Linked DNA regions of Homo sapiens: regions 2 and 3 are each linked to region 1. The links are contacts of gene promoters, found by promoter capture Hi-C in blood cells and fetal thymus (Javierre and others, 2016). All regions are on one chromosome and are shown on one strand. The core of a region is centred on a gene start or on the middle of the fragment in contact, and the rest is flanking DNA. Distances in the headings are between cores, read along the strand shown. Region 1 holds the start of C16orf90 (chromosome 16 open reading frame 90). Region 2 has its middle 20 kb from the start of ZNF200. Region 3 overlaps MMP25 (matrix metallopeptidase 25).

Region 1 (3,444 bases), core at 645-3,144:
GCTGACTGGAGTCTAAGCAGGCTGCAAGGGCACGGCCATGCTTCTATTGCTTCTGCCCCTCCCTCGGAACCTCCTCCTCCTCCCTCTCCCCATCACATTCTCCCGAGGCCCAGGCCTGGGCGCTGGGCCGCTGCCTGGGCCACCCCATGTGGCAGGGCCACTGCCGGGGGCCGAGCCCCTCCTGCTCAGGCTGCCTCCTCGGCCATCCTGCCCCTCCTGTACCCAGTCCTGGCACTCGGGATCCCTATGGCCTCTCCAGGGCCCCAGAGCGGGTTCTCTTGCACAAGGGACACATGGCCTCTTCCCAGGTCCCCCAGGACCTCTTGGGCCTGAGCCTAGAAGGACTAGGCTGGGGGAGGGCACCCTTGTCTGGGTCCATGCTGGAACTGGAAGCTGAGGAAAGAGGAGAGAAAGGAGTCACTTGAGGGACCCAAGGGGAGGCTGGGGGGGAGGCTGGCAGCCCACCCTGGGGTTTCCAGAATCCGATATTCTTGAAAACAGAAGGGAGGAGGGCAATGCTTCCTCCTTAACAGAATCCCCAGGGGAGGGAGGAGGTTGAGGGAACAGAATGGTTCAAGCTGGAAGGACCCTCATCTAACCTGAACCCTCATTTTACAAGTGAGAAAACTGAGGCCCAGCAAGGGAGACAGATTCCAAGGCCCCTCACCGAGTGTGGAGCTGGGGCAGTCACCCAGCCCTCCCTCCCAGATCCTCCCTTTTTCTCGCACCGCTTTGTCCCTGGTGGATTCTCCAGACCCCGCTTAGCTGTGCGTGATGCAGAGATGGGGACAGATTCATCAAGATCTTGGCCTTCTGGGGCATGGTGCCACTGTGGAGGCTTGGGAGTGGAGAAGGGCCCGCCTGAGGCCCCAGCCCAACCATCCCCTAGGGTCTTCCCCCGTGCCCAGTCCTGCCTTGACAGAGCTCACCACTGCTTCCCAGGCTGTCCCTGGGCAATCGGGCTTCCAGAAGGGCTGAACAGAGGCTGTTACGTGGGCCCAGAGTCCCCTGTGGCAGGTCCAGGGCCCAGGCTGTGCCCTCAGGCTGTGGCAGGCAGCCCCCAGCCATAAGCCGGCCCAGCCAGTGGCTCTCACACTGGCCAGTGGGTGGCGGGTGGCTCTCCAGGTAGAGGCCCAGGCCCCGGAGGTGGCGCAGCCGGAAGTTCTTGGGCTTGCTTCCCTGGGCACTGGGGCACTGCGGCTGCGGGGACCCCAGGCCCCCCTCGTAGATGTTGGGGGGTGCGTCAGGGTGGCCGGGGCGTCCTTGGGCCTGGCTCACTGCATCTGCAGAGGAGACAGCGGGAGGGTGGTGGCCAGCCCCCCACAGCAGCCATGAGGGGAGGGTGCAGTCACATACCTCTGAGACCAGCTCACATGATGGGCTACACCCCCAGCCAACCTGGCCTCAGTTTACCTGTGTGTCAAATAGTCTCAGTCCACTGCCTCCCCTGCCCATGCCCAAGACACGACTCCTCTTCCCACTCCCAACCAACAGGGAGGCCTGGGAAGCCTCGGGCCTTGGTACTAAGAGTGCTTTCAGGACCTCAAGTCCTTTCTACTACCCTGTTCTGCCCGCTACCCTAGGAAGAGTATTCTGGTCCCCACAGAGAAATTGCACAGTGGGTTTGAGAGAAAGTGGCCAGCCCAGGGGCTCATGGCCTGGCCCAGTGGCCATTCCCCTCTCCCAAGCATACATGTCCCTGAGGCCACCCCTCGGCTTTGGGCCCAGGTGGGGACAGAAGCCTATCTCTCTTCCTGCCACTCCTCCCCACAGCCCGGCACCTTCTCTTATGTGCAGCTCAGAAAATGCACAGACCAAGGCTTCCATGGAGGGCCAGTGTGGTGGGGAGGAGCAACCAGGACTTGGGTGCAGCAGGGCCCTGCTCTCCCCTGCCTAGGGGGTACATTGGCAGGTCTCCCCTGGCAACTGGTTCTTATGACATCACGGGGAAGACTCCCAGCCTTCCTGGACCCCTAGTTTGGGAGAGGACAGTGCCCAAGGCAAGGGCAGGGTGAAAGAAAGGCATGGGAAGGGGCCAGAACCCTGGGGGAAGTCCCTGGTCCCTCTGGCTGGGGTCAGGCCACATAAAACAGACAGCTCTGGCAAACTGGAGAGTCCTTCTCTCAGGTGATCTCTTGGGGCCAGCTTCCTCATCTGGGGTGGGAAATGAGGGTTCAGGAGTACAGACCTAGGAAGACCTAGGTCGGTACTTTGAAAATGCTGAAAAGGGGCTGGGGGCGGTGGCTCATGCCTGTAATCCCAGCACTGTGGGAGGCCGAGGCAGGCTGATCAGTTGAGGTCTGTGGGAGGCCGGGGTGGGCGGATCATGAGGTCAGGAGATCGAGACCATCCTGGCTAACACGGTGAAACCCCGTCTCTACTAAAAATACAAAAAAATTAGCCGGGCGTCGTGGCGGGAGCCTGTAGTCCCAGTTACTCAGGAGGCTGAGGCAGGAGAATGGCGTGAACCCGGGAGGCGAAGCTTGCAGTGAGCCCAGATCGCGCCACTGCACTCCAGCCTGGGCTGCAGAGCGAGACTCCGTCTCAAAAAAAAAAAAAAGTTAAACATTCATCTTTCCGGACCTGGCCAAGCAGGAAGCGCCATCATGGGAGCTGACGTCCGCCACAAGAAGGACCTAAAGGTTCGGCGCAAAGAGCCCAAGAGCCAGGATATCTAACTGAGGCTGTTTGTTGGTCAAGCTGTACAGGTTACCGTCCAGACGAACTAACTCCACATTCAACCAGGTTGTGCTGAAGAGGTTGTTTATGAGTCGCACCAACCGGCCACCTCTGTCCGTTTCCCGGATGATCCGGAAGATGAAGCTTCCTGGCTGGGAAAACAAAACGGCCGTGGTTGTGGGGACGCTTAACGGATGACGCGAGGGTTCAGGAGGTGCCCAAACTTAAGGTGTGTGCGCTGCCCGTGACCAGCCGGCCCACAGCGGCATCCTCAGGGTGGGGGCCAAGATCCTGACTTTCGATCAGCTGGCCCTGGACTCCCTCAAGGACGGCGGCCCCGTCCTACTCTCCGGTCTTCGCAAGGGCCGACAGGTGTACCGGCATTTCGGCAAGGCCCTGGGAACCCCACACAGCCACACCAAACGCTATTTCCGCTCCAGGGACCAGAAGTTCGAGCGCGCCAGAGGCCTACGGGCCAGCCGAGGCTACAAAAACGAACCCTCTTATTAAAAAGATTTTGGATGCTGACAAAAAAACAAAAAGTTAAAACATTCAATTTTCTCTTGTCACAGACGACCTGATTTTTCTTTTTTTCTTTTCTTTTTTTTTTTTTTTAAGATGGAGTCTCACTTTGGCGCCCAGGCTGGAGTGCAGTGGCGCGATCTCGGTTCACTGCAACCTCCGCCTCCCGAGTTCAAGAGCTTCTCCTGCCTCGGCCTCCCCAGCAGGTGGGATTACAGGCACCCACCACCACGCCCAACGGAT
Region 2 (3,360 bases), core at 76-2,575, 280 kb before region 1:
GAGATCGAGACCATTATGGCCAACAATGTGAAACCCTGTCTCTACTAAAAATACAAAAATTAGCTGGGCATGGTGGTACGTGCCTGTAGTCCCAGCTACTCGGGAGGCTGAGGCAGGAGAATCTCTTGAACCCGGGAGGTGGAGGTTGCAGTGAGTTGAGATCAAACCACTGAACTCCAGCCTGATGACAGAGTGAAACTCCATCTCAAAAAAAAAAAAAAAAAAAAAAAGAGAATGGGACAGAGAGAAGGTGATTGGATTTATACATTGTAGCCAAGCATGTAGTGATAGCTTTGCTCAATCCTGGTTCCAAATACTCTGGTTCAACCAGCTATGGTGAAGGGGAGGTGGTAGAAACACGACTCCTGGGGCTCCACCACATTGTGCCTATGCAGATTAGGAAGCTCTATCCCAAGAAAAGGGCAAACCATGTGAGTTGCAGGGACATCCCCAAAGATGTCCATCCTAGGGGTCTAGAGTTCATAAATCACGGCATCCTGGATTCTCCTGGAGAAAACCTCCCTTACAATCAGACTACCCTTCATCTCAAACATTTTCTTTTTCCTTTTTTTTTTTTTTTTGAGACAGAGTCTTGCTCTATTGCCCAGGCTGGAGTGCAGTGGCACGATCTCGGTTCACTGCAACATCCACCTCCTGGGTTCAAGTAATTATTGTGCCTCACCCTCCCAAGTAGCTAGGACTACAGGCACATGCCACCATGCCTGGCTAATTTTTGTATTTTTAGTAGAGACTGGGTTTCACCATGATGGCCAGGCTGGTCTCGAACCCCTGACCTTAGGTGATCTGCCCACCTTGGCTTCCCAAACTTTTGGGTTACAGGCGTGAGCCACTGTGCCTGACCCCAAACATTTTCACGAATTAAGCCCATCTCAGTAATGTGCTCGTAACATTCCCTCCTGTAAAATGGAAAACACGAAGCATCACTAATGTCTTAAGATGACCAGGCAGAGGAAAGCAAGGGCTACACAGAAAACACGGAAGAGCCCCATATCTCAACAAAGGAAGTGATACTGCAAAGGATTTCATGACAGAATTTCCACACCTGTGGGCACAGGAGCAGATCACAAGGTGAGGAGGTTTGTGGTTCCAAGGAATCTTGTCTGCGATTTATCTGTATCAGGATGGCTTCATTTCTAATATCTACAAGTTTTGGTCCAAGAGTTTTATCTAAACGTTAGATAATATTGAATGTCGTCGTTGTTTGGTCCAAAGGGGCCAAAATTAGGTGGGACAATTATGTTCTTCTTGTCCCTAATGAGGCTCTCAGGGAATCTGGTCCCAGTGGCCAAAGGAGGTTCCTACAAATGCCTGCTCTGTGATTGCCCCAAACATTTACTTACACAGAGGACTAAGACCATGAGCCCCTACTCCTCACACACTCAGGACCCGCCTGTGTTTCCAAGACATTCCAACTCCCACAGTAAGTAGAAGCATTGACCAGTTATGTAGAAATGAGGAACAACTGAGAGTGACAGCACCAACCTTCTCCAGGAAAGGTCGCAGAGGTGAACAATTAAGTATGTGTTGGCTCAGATGTGAAGTTCTTTTAGGAATCTTCTTTGCTACATCATCCAGATACAGGAAGTAATGAGTAATGTACAGAGAAGTGAAGTACAGGAGTCCTGAATCCATCAGTTGTCACTTGAGATTAACCCAGTAATCATCAGTCATTCCTCCAGTCTCTTTATGAGCTGCTAACTAGTTGGGTGGGGAACTGAATGTACCAGAGACACACACATTCTCAGAGTCAGGCTATGTGTACGTGTCTGTGTGTTTTGTTTTCTTTTCTTTTTTAATAGAGATGGGGTCTTGGTATGTTGTCCAGGCTGGTCTTGAACTCCTGGCCTCAAGCCATCTTCCCTCTTTGGCCTTCCAAAGTTCTAGGATTACAGGCATGAGCCACCATGCCCAGCCTGTCTGTGTTTTCAACGTTAAATATGCAAAATAAGAATCAGTGAGTCGTCTAGGAAAAGCATCGTAACTGAGTGTTGGAAATTGGACGTATGGGTGAGGAGACCACATCCTGTTTTTGCAAGTTTGTGAATTGATTTGCAAACGTGGTTCTTCCTGGAGCCTCATCACATCTTAACCACCCATGTGTATGTTTCTGAATTCACTGTCTTCTATGCAGCTGGGTCCAGACATATGAGAGGGACAAACCAGTGAGTGTCTCCGAGTTCCTCCTCTTGGGACTCTCCAGGCAGCCCCAGCAGCAGCATCTCCTCTTTGTGTTCTTCCTCAGCATGTACCTGGCCACTGTCCTGGGGAACCTGCTCATCATCCTGGCCATAAGCATAGACTCCCGCCTGCACACCCCCATGTACTTCTTCCTCAGCAACATGTCCTTTGTGGACAACTGCTTCTCCACCACCGTCCCCAAGATGCTGGCCAATCACATACTCAGGACTCAAACCATCTCCTTCTCTGGCTGTCTCATGCAGATGTATTTTATCAGTGAGCTTGCTGACATGGACAATTTCCTCCTGGCTGTGATGGCCTATGACCGCTTTGTCGCCGTGTGCCGCCCCTTACATTACACAGCAAAGATGACCCATCAGCTCTGTGCCCTGCTGGTCACTGGATCATGGGTGGTTGCCAACTCGAATGCTCTGCTGCACACCCTGCTGATGGCTCGACTCTCATTCTGTGCAGACAACACCATCCCCCACATCTTCTGCGATGTGACTCCCCTCCTGAAACTCTCCTGTTCAGACACACACCTCAGTGAAGTGATGATTCTTACTGAGGCTGCCCTAGTCACGATCACCCCATTTCTTTGCCTCCTGGCTTCCTATATGCACATCACCTGCGTTGTCCTGAGGGTCCCATCCACAAAGGGAAGATGGAAAGCCTTCTCCACCTGTGGCTCCCACCTGGCTGTGGTTCTCCTCTTCTATGGCACCATCATGTCTCCATATTTCAGAACTTCATCCTCCCACTCAGCTCAGAGAGATATAGCAGCTGCTGTGAGGTTCACAGTGGTGACTCCCGTGATGAATCCTTTGATCTACAGCCTGAGGAACAAGGACATAAAAGGGGCTCTTGTAAAAGTGGTTGCTGTGAAATTTTTTTCTGTTCAATAATGGTATAGGCTTAAGAAAGTCCTAGAAGGAGCTAATTTCTGAGATAATCGTTTATTTTTTCTACTGTGTGAAACTTAGCATTGTTTGTTTGTTTGTTTGTTTTGAGACGGAGTCTCTGTCACCCAGGCTGGAGTGGAGTCGTGCGATTTCGGCTCACTGTAACCTTTGCCTCTTGGGTTCAAGATAATCTCCTGCCTCAGCCTCCTGAGTAGATGAGATTACAGATGTGTGCCACCACAATTTTTTTTTTTTTTGT
Region 3 (3,561 bases), core at 363-2,862, 440 kb before region 1:
TCCGGGGACACTCACTTTGACGATGAGGAGACCTGGACTTTTGGGTCAAAAGGTAAAATCTCCTCTCTTATGAGAGATCCTCTTGCCAGGTCTGGTCTTAAGAATAAGTTTTCTGTTGTGTGTTTTGTTTTGTTTAAGAAACAAGGTCTTGCTCTGTTGCTCAGGCTAGAGTGCAGTGGTGCAATCATAGCTAACTGCAACCACGAACTTCTGGCTCAAGCAATCCTCCCACCTCAGACTCCAGAGTAGCTGGGATCACTGGTGCACACCACCATACCTGGCTATTTTTTTTGTTTGTTTTTTTTACTTTTTGTAGAAACAGGGTCTCATTATCTTGCTCAGGCTGGAGTGCAGTTGCACGATCACGGCTCACTGCAGCCTTCACCTCCTGGGCTCAAGTGATCCTCCCTCCTCAGCCACCACGTAGCCAGGACCACAGATGTGCACCACCACACCTGGCTAGTTTTAAAACTTTTTGTAGAGATGGGGCTTCACTATGTCACCAGGGCTGGTCTTGAACTCCTGGGCTCAAGTGATCCTCCCATCTTGGTCTCTCAAAGCATTGGGATTATAAGCATGAGCCACCACTCCTGGCCAATAATTAGGTTTAAATTATATTTACTGATGGAGGCTTTATCAGCTGGGAGGTCTCCAGAGAAACAAAACCAACAGGATGTGTGTGTGTGTGCACGTGTGTGTGGGATGTGTGTGTGTGTGTATGTGTGTGGGGGGGGTGTGTGTGTGCGTGTGTGTAAAGAGATTTATTTTAAGGAATTGGCTCACGGGATTGTAGGGGATAGCAAGTCCAAAATTTGTACGGCAGGCTGGCAACTCAGGATTTCAGTGACAGTCTGGAGGCAGAATTCCTTCCTCTCCAGGAAACCTTAGCTTTAGCTCTCAAGGCCTTGAACTGATTGGCTCTGCCCCCACCCCACCCCCAGCCACACTATGGAGCATGATCTACTTGACTTAAGGTCAACTGATTGTAGATGTTAATTGCATCTACAAAGACCTTCACCATGGCATCTAGACTGGTGTTTCACCAACCAGCTGGGCACGACAGCCGGGCCAAACTGACACACACAATGAACCATCACAGAGGCCTAGCAGGTGCCTAGCTCCAAGCCAGAGCTGGGGGCTTGCGGAGACGAAAACAAATCTTTACCTGGCAGCTGAGTCAGAAGAGTGACTGGCAATGACAACACCCACGGTGACACAGCTCCACAGAATCCCAGCAGAGGAAGTCCTCAAGCCTGCAGGGGCTCAGAGATGTTGGCCCAAAGCTCTTGGGCAAGGGGAGGCTTCCTAGAAGAGGTGACTTCGTTCCCTCAATATATATATGAATATAGGCCGGGCGTGATTGCTTTCATCTGTAATCCTAGCACTTCGGGAAGCACAGGTGGGTGGATCACCTGAGGTCAGGAGTTTGAGACCAGCCTGACCAACATGTTGAAACCCCGTCTCTACTAAAAATACAAAAAATTAGCCGGGTGTGGTGGTGCAAGCCTGTAATCCCAGCTACTGGAGAGGCTGAGGCAGGAGAATCAGTTGAATCCTGGAGGCAGAGGTTGCAGTGAGCCGAGATCGTGCCACTGCACTCCAGCCTGGGCAACAAGAGCAAAACTCCATCTCAAATATATATATATATATATATGAATATCCACACATACACACTGAGTGACTACTAGCACAAGACAAGACATACAGAGTTCCGCTCTCCCCAGGTACACAGGGTTGAGATCCAATGGGAAAGCAGTGAGCCAGCTGAGTCAGGGGTAAGAGGAGCCAGTGACCAGAGAAATGACCCGGGACATATGAGGCCAGAAGCCAAAACTATGGCATCAGTAGGGAGACTGCAGAAGGCGGCAGGTCCTGGATCACCAAGGACCTTGAAAGCATGTGGAAGACTTTGATCAATGGGGGAATCATTAAGGGGTTTTGCATTCCGGAACTATCATCAGCTTCAGCGGGGGGCAGGGGGTAGGATAGAGGCAGGGAGGCAGGAAGTTCTCGCAGGGTCCAGGCAAGAGATGGTGGAGTGTGGTCCTGGGGAAGGGGGCAGTGGACGGATCTGAGGGAGGTTCAGTTAGGATGGGCAAGGATTGAGATCTGGCTGGATCCTGGTGACAGGGGAGATGAGGCTGGGGCCCTTGGAGGATGGCGTCCTGGTGCTGTTAATGCAGGTGTGAGAGTGGGAGGAGGAGGAGCAGGCTGGCAGAAGGCAGGCACAAGTGCAGGTCTGGGCGGGAGTCTGCAGCGCTCTGGGCTGGCCACACCGGTGGGGCAAGGGAGGTGGAGGATCCTGCCCTAGAGCTTGGTCTCCTCTGTCTGAGGTCAGGTTCCCCAGAGGTGGGGCTCCAGAGGGAAATTCTTGTGCAAGCAGTTTCTCAGGGGCCATGTGCTGAGGGGAATGGGGAGCAGGAACAGCCTAGAAGCTGAGTGAGGATGTGGTCTCAGCTGGAGAGGAGGCTGATCGCATGGGAGCTCTGCAGCAGGGATGGCAATGCCGGGGAGGCGGTCCCGCCTGAGGCCAGGCCCAGCTCTTTGCAGCCCCATATTAACTACATTGGCTGCTGGGGAGCCTGAGTGACGGGGGAAGGGGGCAGCCAGGGAGGGTGCCTAGGCCCTGTGGAGGGCTTGGTAAGGCAGAGGCTGGGGAGGCTGTGTGCCTCAACATTCACATATGGGCTTCGGCTGGGCGTGGTGGCACATGCTTGTAGTCCCAGCTACTCAGGAGGCTAAGGCAGGAGGATTGCTTGAGTCAGGGAGGTTGAGACTGCAATGAGCTGTGTTCACACCACTGCACTGCGGCCTGGGTGACAAAGTGAGACCCTGTCACACACACAGAAAAAGAGAATGTGGGCTTCAAAGCTGAATTCAAGTAAGTCAGGGTTCTTCCACTTGTAATGAACAACTTCCTTAACCTCATTGTCTCAGGTTCCTCGCCTGAGAAATGCGAGGAGAACGGCGCCTGCTGGTGGCGTGGGCTTGCCGATGAAATGAGCCATTCACCCATGCCTCTCAGCACAGGGCCTGCCCTGGGCCGCATACTGTGCATTGTCAGCTGCTGTCGGAGCTGGGCTAGCGGCCGCCTTGAGAGCCAGCAGTCCACGGGGGTTGGCGAGCTTCTGGGAGGAAAGGGTGGAACGTGACTGTCAGGTACAGAGCTACAGAGAACCCCAGCATGAAGGAGTAGGTGGCAGGGGAGAAGGACTCAACAGAGATGGAGAAAGACTAAGCCCAAAGGTGATCAACAACAAGAGTGAAGGAGGAAGTGGTCAGCTGTGGCTGGGGCAAAACAAGCCCAGTAAGTTACATTGGCCTGTGTTTGGTCATCCAGGGACAAAGTGACCTTTTTAGTGCCTGTAGGCCCAGCGCGTTGGGGAAGAATTTAGAATGCAGTGGGGATAGGTGTGAGAGGAGCGGGGGAAGTGAAGATTGAGTTGAGACCACTGGCTGGAGAACTTGACCGGGAAGGGAGGGCAGAGAGCAGCATGGGGTGAGGGGAGGGAATGGATCCAACGAGCGTCTTAGGATGAGGGAGTTGTGAGCGCTCAACAC

What was found. The method cuts DNA at HindIII sites, captures the fragments that hold promoters and counts their contacts. A CHiCAGO score of 5 or more calls a contact.
Region 2: a contact is called between a fragment that was not itself captured here and the fragment with the promoter of C16orf90 in region 1, in 1 of 17 cell types (M2 macrophages). The highest score is 5.2, in M2 macrophages.
Region 3: a fragment that was not itself captured here is called in contact with the fragment with the promoter of C16orf90 in region 1 in 1 of 17 cell types (naive CD8 T cells); the score reaches 5.3 in naive CD8 T cells.

What each region holds. Positions count from the first base shown.
Region 1 is chr16:3,493,595-3,497,038 of GRCh38, forward strand. C16orf90 (chromosome 16 open reading frame 90) reads right to left here and starts at 1,895. Exons shown (of 3, transcript NM_001080524.2): 1 at 1,782-1,895; 2 at 930-1,283; 3 at 1-393. The coding sequence starts at 1,827. The coding sequence ends at 245. It also overlaps a transcript of CLUAP1 not described here and the pseudogene RPL18P12. The HindIII fragment of the contact is 6,628 bases long and covers 1-2,480 here.
Region 2 is chr16:3,213,446-3,216,805 of GRCh38, forward strand. It overlaps the pseudogene OR1F2P. Among named protein-coding and RNA genes, the nearest start is that of ZNF200, 20 kb to the right of the region's middle. The HindIII fragment of the contact is 7,571 bases long and covers 1-3,360 here.
Region 3 is chr16:3,050,495-3,054,055 of GRCh38, forward strand. It overlaps MMP25 (matrix metallopeptidase 25), which reads left to right. Exons shown (of 10, transcript NM_022468.5): 4 at 1-52. LOC124900372 (sialidase-like) reads right to left here. Exons shown (of 3, transcript XM_047435000.1): 3 at 2,860-3,561. The coding sequence ends at 3,313. MMP25-AS1 (MMP25 antisense RNA 1) reads right to left here. Exons shown (of 5, transcript NR_123723.1): 5 at 1,631-3,128. Among named protein-coding and RNA genes, the nearest start is that of MMP25, 5.7 kb to the left of the region's middle. The HindIII fragment of the contact is 5,966 bases long and covers 1-3,561 here.